2 separate regions of the Homo sapiens genome follow, and region 1 is linked to region 2. Evidence: promoter capture Hi-C in human tissues and cell types (Jung and others, 2019). All regions are on one chromosome and are shown on one strand. Each heading gives the region's core, a stretch centred on a gene start or on the middle of the fragment in contact. The rest is flanking DNA. Distances are from core to core; before and after follow the strand shown. Region 1 has its middle 160 kb from the start of CEP120. Region 2 holds the start of PRDM6 (PR/SET domain 6).

Region 1 (4,903 bases), core at 1,261-3,760, 180 kb before region 2:
AAAAGCATTCTTAAATAAATGAACAAATGCCTAAGTTAATGAAAATTGGGCAAGCTTAGAGTGTGTTTGGCCGAGGCTGACAATGACAATAGAAACTTTTAAAGTTGGAAGTGATCTGGAATCCCTTTAAGCTAAGCCACTCATTTATTGATAAATGATGGATCCAGAAAGGAGAAGTCATCTGTCCAAGGTCACTGAGCTGCTCACCGGCAGATCCTGCTTCTGGATCCAGAGACAGACCCTCCCATTTTTCTCATAGAACTCTGTGGCACTTGAAAAAGGTCCTCGGGGAAGTAAATTCTTTGAGACAAACTGTTTCTGGCTGCTAATAACTGACTAGGAAAGAAAAAATAACGTAGGCAGCATTAGTATTTTCCTGATGGATTTAGTTACAGAGATTAAAGTGTCAGCTTGGTAAAGTTCCAGCATGTCTCGGGTTTGACACTAGTTTTAGAGTGAAGGTAAAGACGTCCAGAGCAGACTTTTTGACATGTTGGGGAGCAGCGTCCCAGGGGTCTCTCCCTCAGAACCTAGGCTCAGTTTGTACGGTGGGTCTGGTTGGCTCTGGGAGGCCCACAGCTAGAAAGAATAACAGGGTTGTGCCGTCCAGGCCTGAGACCTGTTGGCACTGAAGTGTGGGAAAAGTTCTCACAAGGCCTGCCCACGGTCAGCCCTGTCCAGACCGAGGTTATTAATCTTTCATGTCCCCAAACACTCAAGTCACAGCATTTTGAAAGGGAAAAATAAAGTGGGATGTCATGGGGGCAGTGTGGTAGAGTAGAAAGAACAGCAGAAGGTGACTTGGGAGCCTGGACTTAAGTTCCTTGAAAGAAATCAAGAGTATTGGACCAGGTGATGTACAAGCTGTCTACTGGCTTTAGGATTGGGCTTGAAGCTTTTAAATCCTGTCCAAATCCAATATATCTAAACACGTTTTCAGGAAGTGGGAATAGGGCTTAGGATCATGGAGTCAGACTGCCTAGAGTCCAGTGTTGGCTTTACCATATATTAGCTGTATGCTTTTGACCTCTTAGTGCCTCAATTTCCTCTTCTGTAAAATGGGCTTCATAGGGTTGTTTTGAAAATTACAAGAGAACTCTATTAAGGTGGTTAACATATACTAAGTGTTTGATGAATGTTATCTATAACTAGTATTATCTTCTGACACAGGAAAAGCATGCCCAGAAAAGACGAGGGACTACAGCAAGCCCAAGGCTTACGGTCACTTACACGGAAGAAAGATAGTTCCTCAGCTGTCATCTGTATCCAAATCGTATAAAAAAAAAAATGGTATTCAGGACATAACAAATAGATAAGCACAGTCCAAAACTGTTCGTACAGCCTGATCTCATTTTTGAAAAATTCAATATGAAACCCAATTCTATGTATATAGGTAAGGAGGCACAAAAAAGAATGTTAGCAGCAATTACCTCTGGGAGGCGATGATGGGGCAATCTGTGGCCTATATTTTCTTTTTTATTTCTTATTTGCTTATTTATGCTTTCTAAATTTGCTCAGCAAACACTTCGTGAAAACAAGGATTTTTTTTAATGCTAACATCAGAGGAATTGGAGAAAATAAATCAAATTTTTGTCAATAGCTTTATTATACTTATAGGTTACTCATCATCTGGGACCCTGAATCATTCTCATTTTGTAACTTTTCATTTGGAAGTTATTCCTACAACTGCTTCTGGGCTTTTAGTTGCAAAACAAAACAATGCAAAAATTGAAGGAGTCAAGTGTCAGTGGGAAACTGAAACATGTGGAGAGGGAACACGACAATAACTATTCGTTAAATGGCCAGGCGCGGTGGCTCACACCTGTAATCCCAGCACTTTAGGAGGCCGAGGCGGGCGGATCACTAGGTCAGGAGATCGAGACCATCCTGGCTAACACAGTGAAAACCCAACTCTACTAAAAAAAAAAAGAAAGAAAGAAAAGAAAAAAATTATCTGGGCATGGTGGCAGGTGCTTGTAGTCCCAGCTACTCGGGAGGCTGAGGCAGGAGAATCGCTTGAACCCGGGAGGCAGAGGTTGCAGTGAGCCGAGATTGCACCACTGCACTCTAGCCTGGGTGACAGAGTGAGACTTTGTCTCAAAAACAAAATAATTATCATTTGTTAGATGAATGCAAGAATTAGCGAGATTCACTCAAAATCTCCATGGCATGGAAACTGATTGCACATGGGGTAATATCCATGCTCCTTAATATGAATCACAGTGTGACTCCAATCTTGCAGATACACACACACCCTGAGTTTCTTCAGGCCTGTAGGTACACACAGAGTTACATTAAAGGTAATAATTCAAATTCCACTGGCATTTGTCCCTACCTGCTTAACACAAATCCCCTGAAAGCAATGAAGTCAATGGATAATGAGAAAGTAGAGACTAAATAAAAAGAGAATTATAGTCTGCTATCTTTAAAATGATTTTCTCAGTTGTTTTCTAACATATCAAATTTTAAAAATGTATTTCAAAATGTACGCTTTGGAAGGACGATTACATATTTGTTTCTTTGAAATATGAGGGTTGCATGAATTTGGACGTGCATGTATTTCCTTTCCTATAGTTTGTGTACTTCAGGCAGTCTCTTCCTGGAAAAGGATGGATGGTCTTAAATGTGTTCTATCTCCCATGGCCCTAAGGCGATGCTGGGCAAATGATATCCCAGAATAATCACTTTTTTTTTTTTTTTTTCTTGAGGCAGGGTCTTCCTCTCTCACTCAGTCTGGAGTGCAGTGGTGTGATCATGGCTCACTGCAGCCTCAGCCTCCTGGGTTCAATCAATCCTCCTACCTTGGCCTCCCTAGTAGCTGGGACCACAGGCAGATGCCACTATTCCCAGTTACAACCACATTTTAAAGCTGGCAAAAAAAAAAAAAAAAAAAAGCTTCATGCTTCAAAATCTCTCCTGCCCTTTGACCTAGTGAGGTTACCTGGAATCTCCAAAAGCCAGATGGTCCCTTCATGGCAAGGCTGGGCTCTTTGTGCTCATACTGGCCGTTTTCTTTTTTTCTGCACTAAATACTTATTACAATTAATACTGAATTGAAATAGGAGCCCAAAGCAGTAGCTGGGAATGTCCCAAATCATTTCTCTCACGAAACCTCAATTCTTCTTCCTCCCAGTAATCCAAGGAGTAGAGTGGATCAGATTGAACTTAAAGGTATAATGAGTAAAAAAAGAAAAATTCAAAAGCACTTCTGCCTTTCAACACCTCATCCCTTCTGAAATATTTTAAATAGTGTTTTGGGGAAAAGCAAAGTTGAAGATGGGTAAATAAAGTGTTGAATTAAATTATTCTTTTCCTAGTCATCTGAAGTATTTTATTAGATTACTGCATATCTAGAAAGACCTAGAAACCTACAGGGCCCTTTGTTCTGTGAGGGCCTTCCCTTTGCATTCCTTCTGACCCACCAGTGCCCACTCCCCACCACTTATCCCTAACAGAGGCCTGTCTTAGTGCATTAATGAAATCACTAATGTCCAGCAATAGACACCCTAATACCACTGTTCCTAGAATGACATATATATTACGCTCTGCCTCCGTATCTTTCATGAGGGAGTTTTTATGTGTCACTAAAAAATACTGTATAACACTCTTTATTAGCCCCATGATACCCCAGCCCATCAATACTTGTCCAGGCCTGATGAGATCATGCTATGCTTCTTAATCAGAGTGAAAGACAGCAAGAAATAACTTTATTAAAAAATCAATTAAAAACCAGTTGCCCAGGTGAACAAAACACATCTTTGGGGCATGAGAAGAGGAGTAATAAGGAAATGAAGTGGCAGGAGGCACTGCTGAGAAAAAGGCCTAGTGATTACTGGTCATCTTGGTGTATGTCACTTTTCTTTTTGTTTTGTTTACATAAAACCCTTTCATTCAAACACAAAAAACAGTCACTATTCTCAGGTACCCTGAATGAGGTTTTTAGGAACAGCAATGGGTTTTTGCAGAACCATCTATAGACTCACCTGGTCCACAACACACCCAGCCACAGGCAAGAAGTCAAACTAAAAGCAAGGTAGTGCAGACCTTGGATTTCTGCTTCAGAAATGTTGCAGCAATGATGGCTTAGTATATGTGCTGCTGCTGAAACAAGCACAGAAATGATGGCTTAAAGTGCAGATTTCAGGGTCTATTCCTAGAGAATCTTTTTTAGTCATGTTGAGAAGAACACAGACATCTGAATTTTAAGTAAACATTCCAGGTGAGTTGCATGCAAAAATAAAGCCTGTGCACCACTCTTGTAAGAGGCATGACCCATAAGCCTGCAGTCTTCTTAGTGCAGAAAGTTCACCAGATAGCCACCAGATGGTTAGGTCTCCCAATGTATCCACCCATGTAACCACGCACCCCAACCAAGATATGGAACATTTTCCTCCCTAGAAAGTTCCCACAAACCCCATTACAGTTCTGCCTCATCCCCCGCCCAGACAACCAATGATCTGACTTTCATCTCCCTAGGTTAGTTTTGCCTGTTGCAGAACTTTGTACAAGTAGAACCATACTCTGTTGTGTCTTGCTTCTTCTGCACAGTCATATCTATGAGATGTCATGATATAATGAATGGATAGCACTTAGCACAGTGTAAGGCCATTGTGCATGAATGCCAGCTGCTATCATCATCATTATTAATATCATTGTATCCTCTGAAGATTTATTATGGTTTTCTTTACTATTCAAAAATAATGGGAGTAATTATGGTGGCTGCACAGCCTGGGAAAATACTTTTATTATGGGTTGTTAGGCTTCTTGCTAAAAGGTCAAACTTCTTTAGGAACACCCTGAGACAGCAGACGTAAGTTGGCCAGGTAGCTTGGTTGCAATACAGCTACCACATAGTGATCACCAGAGCTCTGAGACACTGCTCATAGCAGTTTTATCATGGGTT
Region 2 (4,484 bases), core at 877-3,376:
ATAAACCAACATGGGTTATGAATGTTTGCGGGGTCAAAGGTGCGCGGATAAAGCGGGATCAGCGGAATCGGAGGAGAACAGAAATTTTCTTCTCAGTAAGTAGCAGTCATTTTTTTTTCTTTTCCTTCTTTTTAAATGAATAGTAGATCTAAGAATACTGCCTGCCTTCAAGGAGAAACGGACTCAGTTTCATCTAAAATTCCTACTCCAGTGAGGCCTGGCCAGCGAACAGCTCCCGCCGGTTCCCCCACAACCCCGCGGCCCGAAAATGACCCCTCCAGAGGTGGGGTGGAGAGTAGCAAAAACAAGCCCTGGTCTGCGTGCTCCCCAGAGACGCTGAGGGTCCCTCCCTCGTCCCGGCTAAGGCCAGGCAGGGCCTGACCCAGACACCCCCTGTCACACGCTGCCAGTACCCGCCTGGCCCCGGGCACTGTCCGGCGGGAGGGCAGAGGTCTGTTAGGCCGGGTCCACGGTAGACTCCGGCCCCAAACACTTGGGACTGTGAAGCAGGTGAGGAGAGGGAGGGAGAGGGAACCCCAAAGTGCCACCGGCCGTCCCATCCGTTCTCTTTCCTTCTCCAACGCCAGAAAACTTTTGTCACAGAGATCGGGGAGGCGCGGGCCAGCGGCCAGGACCAGGTGCTCCCCACCCACCCGGCCCCGTGTCACTCCTATCCGACCCGCCTCCCTGACAGGCACCCGCGCCCGCCGGCGCCGGCGCCGGCGCCCCGGGAGAGAGCGCGCGGGCTGCGGCTACGTACGGTTGTTGGGGTCGCTGGTGTGCTGGTTGAGCGGGATGATCTCCATGCGCTGCTGGCCATACAGGTAATAGTCCAGCTCCTCTGCGCTGCAGCGGAAGCGCGGGGCGCCGCGACCCTCCCCGCCGCCGCCGCCACCACCACCGCACTTGACGGGCCCGGGGCCGGAGGTGGCGCCGAGGCACAGTTCCTTGGGGGGCAGCGGCTCGGCGGCGACGGCAGCGGCGGCTAGAGGCGCGAACACCGGCAGCTGCGACACCGGCAGGGCCGAGAGACCAGCCAGCGCGGCGGCAGCGGCCGCAGCAGCGCAGGAGGAGGCGGAGGAGGCGGAGGTGGAAGAGGAAGCCGGCGTGGACGAGGCGGAGGAGAGAGAGGCGGGCCGCGGGCGCAGGCTGTCCGGCGGAGGCTCAGCGCGCTCCGGGGGCGGGGGCGGCGGCGGCGGCTGAAGAGGCTGCGGCGCGCTCAGGAGACCCGCGGCGCCGCTGCCCTTGAGCGGGCCTGCGCCTCCGTGAGGGAAGAGTTGCTGCCAGTGCTGCAGGTAGGCTGGGTCCACTTTGAGGAAGGCCGAACCGCCGGGGTCTCCGGGCTTCAGCATGTCCGGCGCCTCGAACTGGGGGCAGAGGGCAGGGAAGAGGGGGCGCGTGAGCTGGGCGAAAGGGGCCGGGAAGAGGGCCACTGGGACCCTGGAGAAAGTGCCCGAGCCGGTGGTTCAGCCGGCGGCCGCCCGGTTCCGCGGCTCCCTCTTCCCAACTCCGCTTGGGCGCAAAGTTTACTCCGAAGCTGCGGCGCCGCACAGAGGGAGCTGTGTGCACCCTGCTCTGCCTCCCCGATCGCAGCGTCCAGCTCCCATCCAGCAATGCTGGGGCCCGACAGGAGGGCGCTGCCCCGTAGAACTCGGCTGCAGGACGCAGCCCCCGCCCTCAGCCAGCGCCCGGAGCCGACCCGAGCCGGCGTGGCGCAGCGCCCGAGCCGCGTTGGCCTCAGGCGCCAGGAGGCAGAACAGTCTCGCCGCCCGCCCCCAACCTAGGACCACCAACCTTCCTATCTACCAAGCCCTAGACTCTTAAGTCCCAGACCAGCCTCACCTTACCTGAAAACTCGGTGCTGCCGGTGGGTGCGTGCGGGTGTCTCGGTGAGCGTGCGGGTGCGCGAGAGTGTGCGCCCTGCGTGCGCTACATGCCCCTGAGCAGCGCGGGAGGAGAGTCCTAGAGATTGTGCCGCCCGGAAACCTCCCGACCTGCAAGCGAGAAAATTGGGAGGCCCGCGGAGGGCGCGAGAGTGCGGACGGACCTGGGCGCCCGACTCAACCGCCGTGGGCTGCTGCGCTTGGCCGCTGCCGCGTCCTGGCTCCTTGGTTCCACGCTCTGGCAGCTTCCCGGCTGGACACGTGGGTTTTACGACAGCACAAAATAGAGTGAGTGTGTGTGTGTGTGTGTGTGTGTGTGTGTGTGTGTGTGTGTGTGTGTGTGTGTGTGTGTGTGTGAGAGAGAGAGAGAGAGAGAGAGAGAGAGAGAGAGAGAGAGAGAGAGAGAACGGAGGGGGGAGGGGAGGCAGGCCAGAAGAAGGGGAGGGGAGAGGGAAGAAGGAAGTTCTAATTCGGCCCGACCCACATCGCCAGAGCGCCTTTCCCGCACAAACTCCTCCGCCCTCCCATCCCCTGTTTTTTTGGCGTGACGTCTGCCGCTAGCCTGTTGTCTCTTTCTGCCCATGATATGTCTTTTCTGGGTCCCAGCTCAGTGCCCTGATCTTGAAAGCAGTGGAAATGCGGCAACGGGAATGCATCTCCGCACACGCTGTGGTGTCCGCGCTGGAGCAAGCCCGCGCCGCCAGGACCGGGTTTGCGCTTTTGCCCGGCTCAGTTTTTCCTGAAGTGCTTCTGGGTGCCAGAGTCCACTCGCCCGCCACGCAACCTCTAACATAAATCCTCCGGGGAGAAAAGTTGGGGGCGGAGCGGGACGGGTTGCGCGCTGCAGTGAAACCCTCTGTCTGCAGCCCAGGAGGGAGGCTTGTCGGTGCAGGGAGGCGTAGGACCGAGGGTCCTGAGACCGAGAGCAGCTGGTCCTGGAGGGACTCAAGCTTGGCCGTGGGGCTGGGAGGCGGCTGCAATGGAGTCTGCACTCCACCCAGCGCTCTGCTGACCCCTTCTCGGGTTGTCTTCTGGAGGGCTCTTTCCCTCTCCTTCTTGGGGCCCGGAGACAAGTATCCAGTGTTACGTCTGGTGGCACAACTGCTCCGGGACACGGGCGAGGCTGTTTGCGGTCAGCTGCCTGCGGCTGCCGCAGGAGGTCACGCATAGGTTTCTCTACCCAAAACCTGGTGTTAGAGGGGCAGGGTGGGAGTGCAGCCCCACCTCCACCATGTCCTCTCCCCAGACTTTGTGCCAGGGCAGCCCTTCGATGCAGTCTCGCACCCACGAAGGAGGCACTTGCCCCCCAGCTCTTCCTGGCATTTTCGGTAGTAGATGGTAGAGGGCACAGGCAGGGTGTGTGAAATTGACCGACTCAGGAGGTACTTTCCCATCGCCGGGGTTCTGGCCATACCGTAAAGAGAAGAAACGGCATTTATCTTTTTCCAAACAACCTAACTTATTTAGCACTTGCCAATCTGAGCAATTAATAGCCATTCTTTCCTGATTTCTGCTTGTTTCTTTTTCTCTTCCCACCACTCAAGTTTTCTGAACCTGGGAAACGTGCTGTTCAGACTTCATCCGGGTCTCATTCAGGATGCTTCGATGTTGGTTGGAAGAGAGTTAGACCGAAAATGTTTTGACTGGCGTCGTTATGACAAGGTCATCCGTCATTGTTGGATAGATTGATAGCACCCAAGTTTAAGGCAGACACCACGAGGGAAAGCCCACGGCGCTGTGGTCCCGGAGGCTAACCAGGCAGTGTCCGCAGACCTCCAGCAACTCCATCGGGAGGAGAGGATGAAGTTCCAGGCCCGTTTCAATTAATCTGCTCGCAGAACTGCCGAAGAGTGGCTTGTCGGGCCACGGGAGAAGAAACAAATGCTCTTTCTCACACTCTCCTGGTTCATTGCTGAGAAACCAGGACACTCCTCTGTTCCCTGGGAGAGACAGTGAACTCCAGGGATGGAAGTCCGGACTCCGGCGGCGGTCCCGTCATTTGCCTTCTTGTTTCTGCCCAAACCCAGCTAGTTCCAAGCGCTTGGTCCCCAAGACTGGAAGTCCCCAAGAACCTACCTCTACCTGTCCCAACCCTGCCTCCCCCCTACCCTTTCACCCCCTGCCACCATTAGAAAGTCTCTGGATTTTGAAATGCTAGTTGCAGCAGCTGCTTCCGTGGCCTCATGCCGCCCACACTCTGGGAAGCGGAGGAGGGAGGGTTCCTCTCGTAATAAGATTAGCTGACCTGTTAATGAGAGTTTTGGACGTGCCGGGCGGGGGTAGGCGCTTTATGTCCATTTAATCCACCTACATGCGGAGAAGGCATTATCATTAACCCCCATATTGTAGATGGGGACCGCTGAGGTTCGGAAAGTTTAGATGGGTTGCCTAAGGTCACGCCATTAATGAGTAATGGAGACGGATTCAAATACCGTTCGGTAAGGTGCCAAGTGCATCTTCTGCCTACCCTAGTCCAACCTGTAGCCACTCGGTCCAGACTGACGCCAGAGGGGCTATCATGGGAGAGATTTGGTTCCCCTCGCTGCGGGGTCCAGGGAAGAAGCTGAGAAGGTAGCAAAGTCCCCCTCGCCCACTACGTCT

Evidence for each region. Contacts are between HindIII fragments. The study calls those that stand out against the background at their distance.
Region 1: a fragment that was not itself captured here is called in contact with the fragment with the promoter of PRDM6 in region 2 in 2 of the 25 tissues and cell types used here (adrenal gland and aorta).

The regions. Positions count from the first base shown.
Region 1 is chr5:123,265,769-123,270,671 of GRCh38, reverse strand. No RefSeq gene overlaps it. Among named protein-coding and RNA genes, the nearest start is that of CEP120, 160 kb to the left of the region's middle. The HindIII fragment of the contact is 4,069 bases long and covers 476-4,544 here.
Region 2 is chr5:123,086,883-123,091,366 of GRCh38, reverse strand. PRDM6 (PR/SET domain 6) reads right to left here and starts at 2,126. Exons shown (of 8, transcript NM_001136239.4): 1 at 1,848-2,126; 2 at 761-1,367. The coding sequence starts at 1,352. It overlaps PRDM6-AS1 (PRDM6 antisense RNA 1), which reads left to right and starts at 1,051. Exons shown (of 2, transcript NR_146771.1): 1 at 1,051-1,295; 2 at 3,428-4,484. RefSeq lists enhancers at 2,387-2,931, 2,932-3,476. The HindIII fragment of the contact is 7,641 bases long and covers 1-3,675 here.